Linked DNA regions of Homo sapiens: all the other regions are linked to region 3. Evidence: promoter capture Hi-C in human tissues and cell types (Jung and others, 2019). All regions are on one chromosome and are shown on one strand. Each heading gives the region's core, a stretch centred on a gene start or on the middle of the fragment in contact. The rest is flanking DNA. Distances are from core to core; before and after follow the strand shown. Region 1 overlaps FARP2 (FERM, ARH/RhoGEF and pleckstrin domain protein 2). Region 2 overlaps HDLBP (high density lipoprotein binding protein). Region 3 holds the start of GAL3ST2 (galactose-3-O-sulfotransferase 2).

What was found. Contacts are between HindIII fragments. The study calls those that stand out against the background at their distance.
Region 1: a contact is called between a fragment that was not itself captured here and the fragment with the promoter of GAL3ST2 in region 3, in 2 of the 25 tissues and cell types used here (dorsolateral prefrontal cortex and spleen).
Region 2: a fragment that was not itself captured here is called in contact with the fragment with the promoter of GAL3ST2 in region 3 in 1 of the 25 tissues and cell types used here (lymphoblastoid cells).

The regions. Positions count from the first base shown.
Region 1 is chr2:241,484,792-241,488,938 of GRCh38, reverse strand. The region is part of intron 21 of FARP2 (FERM, ARH/RhoGEF and pleckstrin domain protein 2); the gene reads right to left. Among named protein-coding and RNA genes, the nearest start is that of MIR3133, 9.0 kb to the right of the region's middle. The HindIII fragment of the contact is 9,439 bases long and covers 1-4,147 here.
Region 2 is chr2:241,306,334-241,310,306 of GRCh38, reverse strand. The region is part of intron 1 of HDLBP (high density lipoprotein binding protein); the gene reads left to right. Among named protein-coding and RNA genes, the nearest start is that of HDLBP, 7.4 kb to the left of the region's middle. RefSeq lists an enhancer at 402-903. The HindIII fragment of the contact is 9,441 bases long and covers 1-3,973 here.
Region 3 is chr2:241,775,388-241,779,201 of GRCh38, reverse strand. GAL3ST2 (galactose-3-O-sulfotransferase 2) reads right to left here and starts at 2,380. Exons shown (of 4, transcript NM_022134.3): 1 at 2,218-2,380. The coding sequence starts at 2,246. RefSeq lists enhancers at 465-1,084, 1,085-1,705, 1,706-2,326, 3,568-3,814. The HindIII fragment of the contact is 16,655 bases long and covers 1-3,814 here.

The DNA.
Region 1 (4,147 bases), core at 957-3,456, 290 kb after region 3:
CAGAATAAGGGATGGAATGTGTTCACCAAACAGTGACTATCTCATATGACACCACTAATGAGAGAGAGTGGACTGATGCTGGACAGACAGGAATGGAGCAGAATGCCCAGAAAGAACTCGAGTGCAAAGACACAGGCTTCCATTTGATAAAGTCTGAGATCAGTGAGAAAATGAAGGATTCAACAAATAATGGGGAGAAATGTTACATCTCAATCTAATATCTATCAAAACAAATTCTAGGCCAGGCACGGTGGCTCACACCTGTAATCCCAGCACTTTGGGAGGCCGAGGCGGGCGGATCACAAGGTCAGGAGATCGAGACCATCCTGGCTAACACGGTGAAACCCCGTCTCTACTAAAAATACAAAAAATTAGCCACCTGTAGTCCCAGCTACTTGGGAGGCTGAGGCAGGAGAATGGTGTGAACCCAGGAGGCGGAGTTTGCAGTGAGCCGAGATCGTGCCTGGGCACTCCAGCCTGGGACACAGAGCAAGACTCCATCTAAAAAAAAAAAAAAAAAAACCAAAAAAGTAAAAAAACAAATTCTAGGGAGATTAATTAAATGAGAAAACTGAAACCATTAAAAGGTGCCAATATAATATTGGCATGGGGAAGAACTTCCTGAGCCCATACTAAGGATAGAAACCCTCAAGGAAAAGACAGCCAGAGCTGACCCTGATAGGCCCTGATTTTTCAACTTTATGATGGTGTGAAAGTGATAAGCATTCAGTAGAAACGGAACTTCAAGTGCCCATACGACCATTCTGTTTTTCACTTCCAGTTTGGTATTCAACAAATTATGTGAGATATTCAACACTTTGTTATAAAATAGGCTTCATATTAGATGATTTTGCCCAACTGTAAGCTAATGTATGTTCTGAGCACATTTAGAGTAGGCTAGGCTGGCTCACGCCTGTAATCCCAGCACTTTGGGAGGCCGAGGCGGGTGGATCACGAGGTCAGGAGATCGAGACCATCCTGCCTAACACGGTGAAACCCCGTCTCTACTAAAAAATACAAAAAATTAGCCAGGCGTGGTGGCGGGCGCCTGTAGTCCCAGCTACTCAGGAAGCTGAGGTAGGAGAATGGCGTGAACCCGGGAGGTGGAGCTTGCAGAGAGCCAAGATGGCACCACTGCACTCCAGCCTGGGCGACAGAGCGATTCCATCTCAAAAAAAAAAAAAAAAAAAAAGAGTAGGCTAGGCTAAGCTATGACATCAGAGAGGTTAAGTGTATTAAATGCATTTTCTTTTCTTTCTTTTTTTTTTTTTTGAGAGGGAGTCTTGTTCTGTCACCCAGGCTGGAGTGCAGTGGTGTGATCTCGGCTCAGTGCAACCTCCGCCTCCCAGGTTCAAGTGATTCTTGTGCTTAGCCTCCCGAGTAGTTGGGACTACAGGTGCCCACCACCACGCCTGGCTAATTTTTGTATTTTTAGTAGAGACAGGGTTTCGCCCTGTTGGCCAGGCTGGTCTTAAACTCCTGACCTTAGGTGATTCACCCACCTCAGCCTCCCAAAGTGCTGGGATTACAGACGTGAGCCACCGTGCCCTGTTAAATGCATTTTTGACTATACTATTTTCCTCTTACAATGGGTTTATCAGGGCATAGCCCCATCATAAGTTGAGGAGTGTCTGTTTCAATTCACACCTTCAACAAGCATTTGCTGGGTTCCCTATATGTGCCAGATGCCATTCTAGAGTAAGAGAAACAGAACCCATCAAGATGGAGTTTAAATTCTACAAGGTAAAACTAAATTGTAGGCAAAGTAAAAAGCAGTTACTGAGAAAATAATTTGTGACTTAATAGTGTTGGTGAGCATTATCATATAAACATTTCACTAATGTGTACAAAAAACTCACAGACCAATGGAGACCAGAGTGACCAGCACGCTGAGTGATTCCTGAGAGGAAAAGCATGGAATGCCAGGACACAGGGGCCAGGCTGGCCTCACCGACAGTCCGCAGGGATGCAAAGTGAAATGATGGGGCTGCTCGATGGGGCTGCTTACCTTACCCACTTGGGAAGAGTAAGAGAGACAGGTGCCTAGCACTTTCCATGGTGGAGGGAAAGATGCATGTTTAGACCTAGCTCCTGCAGGTGGGAAGGTCAGCTGGCGCAGGTGCTCCAACAGCAATTTAGCAGGAGTGCCCAAGGCCGTAAACACCTTTGCTCAGACAAATCTACATTTTGGAATTGATCTGAAGGACATAATTAAGGATGTGCAGAAAGACAGAGATCCAACAATGTTACAGTCCTCAACAACCAGCCACAGCCAAGCGTCCAGTGACAGGTGACTAGTTAAGTGAACTGGGGCTGCCATGAAAGGAAAGGAAAACCAGTGTCCTGACAAAACAGCCCGTGGGTGATGGCAACCATGCAGCAGATGCCTGCAGCCATCACTGCTGAGTGGGTACGATGATAGAGTTCTTTTTCTTGTTTCTTTTCTCTGTGTTTTTTTTTTTTTTTTTTTTTTTTTTGAGACGAGGTCTCACTCTGTCACTGGGGCTGGAGTGCAGTGGTACGATCACGGCTCACTACAGCCTTGACCTCCTGGGCTTAAGTGATTCTCCCATCTCAGCCTCCCAAGTAGCTGGGACTACAGGCACACACCACTTTTGCTCAGCTAATTAAAAAAAAAAAAAAAAAAAAAAGATTTTTGGAGATTTGGCTTCGCCATGTTCCCCAGGCAGGTCTCAAACTCTCAGCTTCAAGCGATCCTACCATCTTGACCTCCTAAAGTGCTGGCATTACAGGCGTGAGCCACAGCAACTGGCCAGTGATGAGTGATTTCTGTCTTATACTTTCAATTATTTTTTTCTATAATAAAGGTGTAATTTTTAAAAGTATACTTTAAAACAAATGGGGTCTGCTTCCGGTGGTGGCAGATGAGCTAATTCAAACTGACCTCTTCTTGCTGAGGGCCTGAGAAGTGGAATTAAATTTTACAAACACCTGCCTGAGGGTTTTGGCGCTCATTGTCAGGAGGAGGCAGTGCAGAGGGATAAGACCCTTGAAGAAAGAACAGGGAAAGAGGACCCCAGGGAGGGAGGACCCCACTGGGGGAGGAAGGACTCCAGGGAGGGAGGACCCCAGGGAGAGAGGATCTCAGGGAAGGAGGACCCTACTGGGGGAGGGCCCTGGGGGAGGAAGACCATGGGGAGGGAAAATCCCAGGGAGGGAGGACCACAGGGAGCAAAGGAGGACCCCAGGAAGGGAAGATCCTAGGGAAGGAGGACCCCAGGGAGGGAGATCCCAGGAAGGGAAGATCACAGGGAGTGAGGGAGGACCTCAGGGAGGGAGGACTCCAGGGAGGGAATATCCCAGGGAGAGAGGACTACAGGGAGCAAGGGAGGACTCCAGGAAGGGAAGATCCTAGGGAAGGAGGACCCCAGGGAGGGAAGATCCCAGGAAGGGGAGATCACAGGGAGTGAGGGAGGACCTCAGGGAGGGAGGGAGAAGCCGATGGAGGGAAGATCCCAGGGAGGGAGGGAGGACTCTAGGAAGGGAAGATCCTAGGAAAGGAGGATCCCAGGGAGGGAGGACCACAGGGAGGGAAGATGCCAGAGAGGGAGGGAAGATCCTAGGAAGGGAAGATCCCAGGGAATGAGGGAAGATCCCAGGAAGGGAAGATCCCAGGGAGGGAGGGAGGACTCTAGGGAGGGAAGATCCTAGGAAAGGAGGATCCCAGGGAGGGAGGACTACAGGGAGGAAAGACACCAGAGAGGGAAGACCACAGGGAGTGAGGAAGGACCTTGGGGAGGGAGGGAGGACCCCAGGGAGGGAAGATTACAAGAAGGGAGGATCTCAAGGAGAGAAGATCACTGACAGGGAGGACCACAAGGAGGGAGTGAGGACCACTGTAGCACTGTAGTCAAGGCAAATAAGCCAAGAGGGATAGGGCAGAGCTGGGGATTAGAGCCCCTGTCCTTGGCGCCCTGGCAGGCCCATGGGGAGAGACAGTCACTGTGACGTGGTGTCCTGGACGAATGGCACATCCTTATGGCAAGTCCTGGACTTGGCTACCTGTCTGTACCGTTCTAGGCCTAGTGCAGGGACACGCTCAGGGCAAGTGGACATAGCCTCTAGAGCTGCATGAAAGTCTCCCCATGACCTGAGAACAGTATTTCTATTGAACACAAAAAGCACT
Region 2 (3,973 bases), core at 279-2,778, 470 kb after region 3:
TTGTACCCTTTGGTTTTTCATTTTCTTTCTGGAAGTTATTCTCAAGTTTGTCTTCCAGCCCTTCTACCAAGGTTTTTCTCATTTCTAAGAGCTTTTTCTTGTTCCCTCTATTCCTATTTTATAACCTATTTTTTGTTTCATGAATGTGGTATCTCCTGTTAACTGTTGGAAGATATTGATGAGGTTTTATTTTTCCCTGTTTTCTTTTTCCTTAAGTCACTATTGAGGCTGCTCTGGTTTGTTGTGGGTTTTTGGCTTTTGTCAGCCTTTTCTGGGCTATGCAGTGATGTTCTTGTGCCTGCTCGTGAGTCAGAGGGCCTCTGAGCCTGTGTCTGTGGCTGACTGTGGCTTTCACTGCAGAGGCACCTGGCTGGGCCATTTCCTTACAGCACCCTTGTCAGCTTCTTTGGGTTTCTTCAGATTCCCCAGAGAAATATCTTGTAGCCCTTTGCCTGGCTGAGTGGCCAAGTGAGGAGAGAGGCCTGGGAGCACAGCAGTAACCATAAAAGAGCTTACTTCCCTCTTTTCAGAATTGTTTCCCTCCTCTGTAACTGGTGTCCCCAGTCCAAAGATTCTACTTCCCTTTGCAGACAGAAAAGCGATACCTTTTTGCCAGGATAGGAGAGGGACTGTGCAGGTTGGCTCTGTGTGGCTGTGCAGAGTTGTGGGGTGCATCTTAGGGATCTTCGTGCCTTTTAAACCTATCAGCCAACTCTGTTTTTAATTCAGGTCTCCTGGCTTCCAGTCATATTGCCAGTTGGCCTTCCCCATTGCCGATACAGGATTCAGCCCTTTTAGGTCTGTTTCCAGTTTCTAGCCTCCAGTATTTTAATGTTCTTATCTCTATTCTTATTCTTTGCTTTCGTGATTTGTATCTTAAAAAAAGAAAAAATCGTTTACTATCATTTTAGTGGTGCTTCACGAAGTAGTGTAAATGTATTGATCTGACAACGGCTCGTGCTGGAGACACTGTTCCAGGAAGTGGGACACAGTAAGGAAAATGCAAGTGTGTTCTCCTGCACTTTCACGGAGGTCACGTTTTGGTAAGCGGTGTCAGGCAGTCAGCAGACCAGCAGATATGCAGTATGTCCAATGTGGACAAGAAGAAAGGAGGAAAATAAAGTATCGAGGGGAGTGGAGTGGGGGACACAGTGGCAGTTTGGCATAGTGGGGAGGCCTTGCTGATTGAGCGACAGTTGATTCAAACTTGAGATGAGCAAACAAGCCATGGGCAGCGATCTGGGGAAGAGCGTTATAAGAGGAATGGACAGGAGGTGAAAAGCACGGGGGCAGGACTGTGTTGTGCACGTTAGAGGAATGTGGAACACCAGTTATTAGACCAGTGTGGAGCAGGACCAGAGGGTGTAGGAGACGGGCAGGTCAGGGAAGAAGCCGGGGCTCCTAGCAGTCGGATCTTGATGCCTTTGGAGAGCTGGAGCAGAGTGACCCAGTACTGGTGGTGGATCGTGGTGAAGTGACCATGGGCCACACCATTCACGACATTTCTTACTTTTCCTGTCACCTGTAGGAGGCAAGTATTGTTGTTATCACAGGTCGAGGTAGACCCTGAGGCAAAGGCTAGAGTTAGTGGTTTGGCTCCAGTTTGTGCCTTCAGCTACTTCACTGCTTCCCTAACCTGGCCTTGTCAGTCAGCCTCAGTCTACCATCTACCCAGGTCTGCATACCCCGCAAAACAGTATACACTTTGACGCTTTTCTGCAAGCACAATTACCTTTTGGGGGAGCCCTTCTCTTAAAGCAGAGTAGGTTAATGTTTGTGAATGAAACGGAACTTTGGCAGGCTGAGGTGTCTCAGGTCATCAGCTTACGTTGTCTACTGTGTGACTAATTGAGGCAAAAGATGTCCTTTTTAATAGTATTTTCTCATCACTTTTGCCTGGGTGCCCTTTAGGAATGTTATTTTTGGCATACAACTTGAGTTTCACTTAAATTTATAATTCTTTCTGTTCATTCCTACTGCTCTGTTGCCCAGATGTGGATTTTGCTTTGTCTCACAAGCGTTGCTGAAACACTGGTAGAAAGGTGGACGACGGATTGGTTGTGATTAGTTTGATCTTCACAGTACAGAAATTCAAAAGGTCAATAAGCTCAACAAGATTGCTGTCTCACTGATGATCAGAGTTGCCATTAAAATCGTATTTCCCGCACATCAGGCTGGAAAAAAGAATAAACATGATCATTTTAGTTGTCCTCAAAGGAGAAGAGGACAGGTATTCTGTAATCAGGTGTTGTGAGTGTAACTAGTTAAACTCTTTGGGAGGTGGGCAGTTTTACCTTGGCAATATCTATCAATGCATTGCCTGTCATCATATAATTCCATTTCCAATTCAATTTATCCTGTGGGGGTAGAGGCCCAAGTGAGCAGAGGATGTTCTTTCCAGCATTGTTTATAATCGCAAAAAAAAAAAAAAATTAGTTCAAGGGTCCTATCAGTAGGGGATTTATTAAGGTATGTTTACTCCACTCAACATGTAGTTGTTAACAAATGAGGTAAATTTGTATTTGGTACTCGGAAAGATGGCCATGGTGTCTTTTCAAATGAAAATAAGTGTAGCAGATGGTGAAAGAATGCATGTAAGATCCTATTTTTATTTAAATCATGTATTAAAATTATAATTAAAGTATAATTAAAATTACAGTTTTGAAGATACAGTTTAGAATATATTTTTTGGTAAAGCCTCATGGGGGGGTTGCCAGTTTTTACATTGTTTTGTTGAGTTATCTTTTAGAATATTTTTAAAGCTAAAAAATCAAGTTCCTTGGTAGACCATCACTACAGCAAGCCCACTGCAGTATTAATCTATTAATACTGTCAATGTTAATTAAACCATTATTCGTGTAGCCCCTACCCATCCCATTCCAGTCTCTCAGGAGGCTTAGCTGTATCCCAGAGACCCCAGTGCTATGACCGCAGGTCTCTCCTGGGGCAGGAAGAGGTAAGAAGTGGCTGATGTCAAAGTCAACAGTCAGCAAGTGGCGTGAGCAGTCTCGATGAATTCTTTCAAATAAGCGTTTTTCAGATCCACTCTAGGGCTTGCCTTTTCCCTCTGTTGTAGTCTCAGAAGTTCTTGAGGTAGACCTTGTGAGACCTGCAGCAGTACTTGCTGTCTTAGGTACAGAAGGCAGGATATTGATTATTTCTCCCTGACTCAACAAAGAGTTGAGATGTTTATCCAGGTTAGGATGACACTGCCCCCCTGTCCCCCCCGCCCCCCAAAAAAGAAACAAAAATGAAAGGATGGTGTCTTTGACTGTACTGGGAGTCAGGAGACCTCACTTCAATTTTGGGCTTTTCCTCGTTTTTTTTTTTTTTTTGAATAGGTTCAGAGCTACTCCCTGGACCTGTTCTTATCAGCCTTATGACTTGGGGACTTGGGATACTTTTTTTTTTTTTTTTAATTTATTGAGACAGAGTCTCTCCCTGTCACCCAGGCTGGAGTATGACAGCATGATCTCCGCTCACTGCAACTTCCGCCTCCCGGGTTCAAGCAATTCTCCTGCCTCAGCCTCCTGAGTAGCTGGGACTACAGGCATGCACAATAGTAGAGATAGGGTTTTGCCGTGTTGGCCAGGCTGGTCTCGAATTCCTGACCTCAAATGATCTGCCAGCCTCGGCCTCCCAATGAAGTGCTGTGATAATAGGCATGAGCCACTGCTCCCAGCCTGACTTGGGGTACTTTTTGACCTGTAGGATTTCAGCTCCTTTCTTTTAAAAATAAGAAAGCTGAGGCCAGGCGCAGTGGCTCACGCCTGTAGTCCCAGCACTTTGGGAGGCTGAGGCGGGCAGATCACCTGAGGTCAGGAGTTCGAGACTGGCCTGACCAACATGGAGAAGCCCCGTCTCTACTAAAAATACAAAACTAGCCGGGCGTGGTGGCTCATGCCTGTAATCCCAGCTGTGGGAGGCTGAGGCAGGAGAATTGCCTGAACCTGGGAGGCAGAGGTTGCAGTGA
Region 3 (3,814 bases), core at 1,131-3,630:
TAACTCAGGACCTGCCCGTCTAGAAATAAACTATCCTAGCCATGAGAGATAAGACAAAACCTGGGACCAGAGACTCATTTTCTTCTAAAATCTTGGAGAGCTTTCTCCAAGATTTTAAAGAGAAAATGGGGGGAAATGTGAAAGGAAAAGATCTTGAGCCCCCAGATCACTACAAGCTAAAGGGAGGAGTCTAGCTGGGAACTGCTCAGGGCAAACCTGCCCCCCATTGTATTCAAAGTCTCCCCTCTGCTCACTGAGATAAATGCGTATCTGACTGCCTCCTTTGGAGAGGCTCATCAGAAACTCAAAAGAATGCAACCATTTGTCTCTTACCTGCCTGTGACCTGGAAGTCCCCTCCCCACTTGGAGTCTTCCTGCCTTTGCTTCGAGCCGTCCTGCCTCTCCAGACCGAACCAATGTTCGTCCTGCATATGCGGACTGATGTCTCATGTCTCCCTACAATGTATAAAGCCAGACTGTGCCCTGACCACCTTGGGCACACGTCATCAGGACCTCCTGAGGCTGGGTCATGGGTGCACGTCCTCACCCTTGGCAAAGTAAGCTTTCTAAATTAACCGAGACCTGTCTCAGATTTTGGGGGTTCACACCGGCATGGTGACCCCCATGGGCTCTGTACCACATCTTCTCTGATCATGAGTCCCCTCCTCCCCAAAGATACCTGGCCACACCCCAGGGAGGCAACACCCCCAAGTGCCATAGCTCAGAGTTTTGTGCCTGAATCATCACCAGCAAAACAAAAGATCAGCAAGCATCCAAGTGAGCACTTTGCCCGGCGGCCTGGATTTCCCGTGGCCGGTGGTCAAGACTAGGCCTCACTAGCGCAGGCAAAGTCTCTCCTCTGTTCTGGGCAGCTCCTTGAATCACCCAGGTGGGTGCCAGTGGCACCACACACTACCGTCCCCTTTGTCCCCAGGGCTGTTGATTTGTTCCACCCACAGGCCAAGCAAGCTGACACAAGCGAGGTGAGCCTCCCACACTTGCCCAACCCCAGGAAAATAAATGCGAGGCTCAGGAAGGCTGCTGTCCAGGGCTGTGGGGAAGTGACTCGGGGCTTCCCTCCTGCAGGCCGTGCTCAATGAAGCCTGGGACACCCGGAGCCAAAGCTCCCTGGCCTTAGTGTGGGACGTGCAGCCTGCATGGGCTGCTGCAGTGAGCCCATCCTGCCAGGCAGTGAGACCAGCAGCTGAGGAGCCTGTGCCCTGGGCTCCCCGAGGGCCTTCGGCTGCAATGCCTCCCATGTCTCACCCACAGAGTCTCAGCTGGGGTCAGGCACACCCGCCCTGGCCGACCTCGGGGGGCCCCAGGGCAGCCAGGGGGGCCCTAGCTTGGCCACCAGCTAATCAAGTGAGCCTGATTCCCCAGCCCCTGGGCCTCTTCTTCACAATATGGTCACAATGTCCACAGGAGGGGGCATCTAGGATGGTCCAGGCCAGGCAGCCGGCCCCACACCTCTCAGCCCTGTGACGGGGTGTCCTCAGCCAGTGTCCTGGCAGCTGGTCTTAAGTCACCCCTTAAAGGAAGGTAACTGAATTCATGGCGGCACACGCCCCGGGGAGGCAGGGACCTGCCAGCGCAGGGACGGCTTCAAACTGCCCTGGAATCACCCCAAACAGGATGGCGAGCAGGAGAAGGAAAACGCAAGGCATCCTTAGCCACACCCACCACCCCTCCAAACCTAACTGGGAAGAAATCCACCTCCCCTCTGTTTACAGAAGGGAGACAGCACAGCAGAGCCCAGCCTCCCCGTCACCACCCAGAGCCCCGGGAGCATCCTGAAGCGCACGCATGACCAACGCTCCAGCAAGCGCCTGGCACTCCCACCAACACGGCCCAGCCATGGGCCTGAGCCGCAGACCGAGGCTGGGAGGTCCCAAGCCCAGCAGGTCTCACCCTCCCCAGCCGTCACGCGGACACTCGAGCGTCTCCACGCCACAGTGTTGGGGGGCAGCTTTCTCACTGGGCCCCACATCCCAGAACCCCCAAACACCCAGAAGCAGCACCAGGCCTGGGCAGGAGGGGCCCCCTACTTCCGAAACGAAGCCAAGACAGGTGAATTCAGGGAAGCCTGAGTAGGAACAGCCTCCAAATCCAAGTCACTTCCTTCGAAAGACAAACAAAACCCACTCCTGTCCGTCTCTCAGAATAGCCACAGATGAAGCGCTTTGTCCACCTGGGGGGTCCAACTGCCCCCCTTACCTCTGCAAGCCGCCCAGCATGGACATCATCTTGGCCTCTGGCCTCCAGCGAGGGGACAGTCGAGGCTTGAGCTCCCCCGAGGTCCCACCGCCTCGGCCCCTGCCGGCTCTGGGCTCCCCAGGGTGCAGGCACAGGCAGGGTGCGGCTGTGGGGCAGGTGAACTGGAATCCCCAGAAGCTCACCTGCCTCCTGGGACGGGAGCCACGCCCTCTCCCCGCACCTCCATCGGAGGGCTTGGTTTTAACTGTTCTGTTCTCGGGAAGAACTGGCTGAGGGAGTCTGGGGAGCCCTCGATGGGCCCCTGTGTTCCCCAGGCCCTGGGAGGACCTGCCTGGGGCCTACCCCTGCTCCCCTGCCCCACCCTCAGTGTCCATCCCCCCGGGGGGCTTGGAGGGAGCTGTCCCCACAAGGGACGGGCTTGGTGGGCTCCAACAGCACAGCGACGGCTTCTGGACTCAGAACTCAGGACCTGACGCAGACGAGAGGGCAGAGGGCCCTGTGGCCACTGCAAGGATGAGCGAGGAAAGCTCAGCCCAATTCCCAGCTTCCTCCCCCTCCTCGTCCTCCTCTTCTTCCTCCCCCTCCTCCTCCTCCTGAGCCTGCTTCACACCAAAAGAAAATCTGACTTTTTAAAATCTTGGGCTGGACAATAAGTTTGAAACAGGACATGGAGGTGGAAAATAAATATAAATATTTGTTTAGATTTTACTGCAAGAAAGTTCATTTCTCTTTTCAGGAAATAGATATTAATTCCGAGACAAGCAGCCAGGGAAATGCTGCAACATTGTGACCAGGCGCTACAGTGAATCCACAGGAAAACGCAAATGCTCCTCAGAGCTACGGGCCACGCGCCATGAGTCACCACCACCCTCGCCACATCCCACCAGCGCTGGTGCCCACCATGCCCTCCGACGCCAAGCTCTCCACACGGCTGGTCACCTTCCCACAACCCCTCCCTGTCGGTGCCAGCTGAGCCTGGATTCCGGGACTGGCCCCAGCCCAAGGCAGCCTCCCTGCCCTAGCCAGTGCCTGGCTCGGATGGGTGCAGGCCCCATAGCCATGGAGGCAGAAACAAGGCTGGGCTGAGGGGCTCAGAGGAGGGGCCGAGCACACATGGACCTCCCTGGCATCAGAGACCCTGGGCTGGGCGGCTGCTGGCGAAAGGCCCAGAGACCCCCAGCCTCCCTTCCCCATTTACCTCCACCTGCAGCCCAGGGGCCTGGCATCTCCGCCCCCGCCTAGGCATCACCCTCCCAGCTGCTCTGTAGACCTCCAGAGCCCGAGTCTGTGGGAGGGGCCAGCAGAGCAGCTCCCGGTGCTAACGGCAGGTGGGAGGGATGCCGGGGCCTTGCTGGCACGGCTGGGCAGCTCTCCACCGGCGTGCCCTGCATCCTCCGCATTCCACTATCCAGAGACATCCGTGTGGGTGTTCACTCCACCATTAAGGAGCCTCCCTGCTGCTTCCTCCACCCACCCTGCCCAGGGCACCACAGGCTCAGCCTAGGAACAAAGAAGATGGCGCCTCATGGGTCCTTACCCCAGAATCACCTTGGCCGAGCCATGTGTTACAAACGGTGGGGCCGGTGGAGAGCAACCT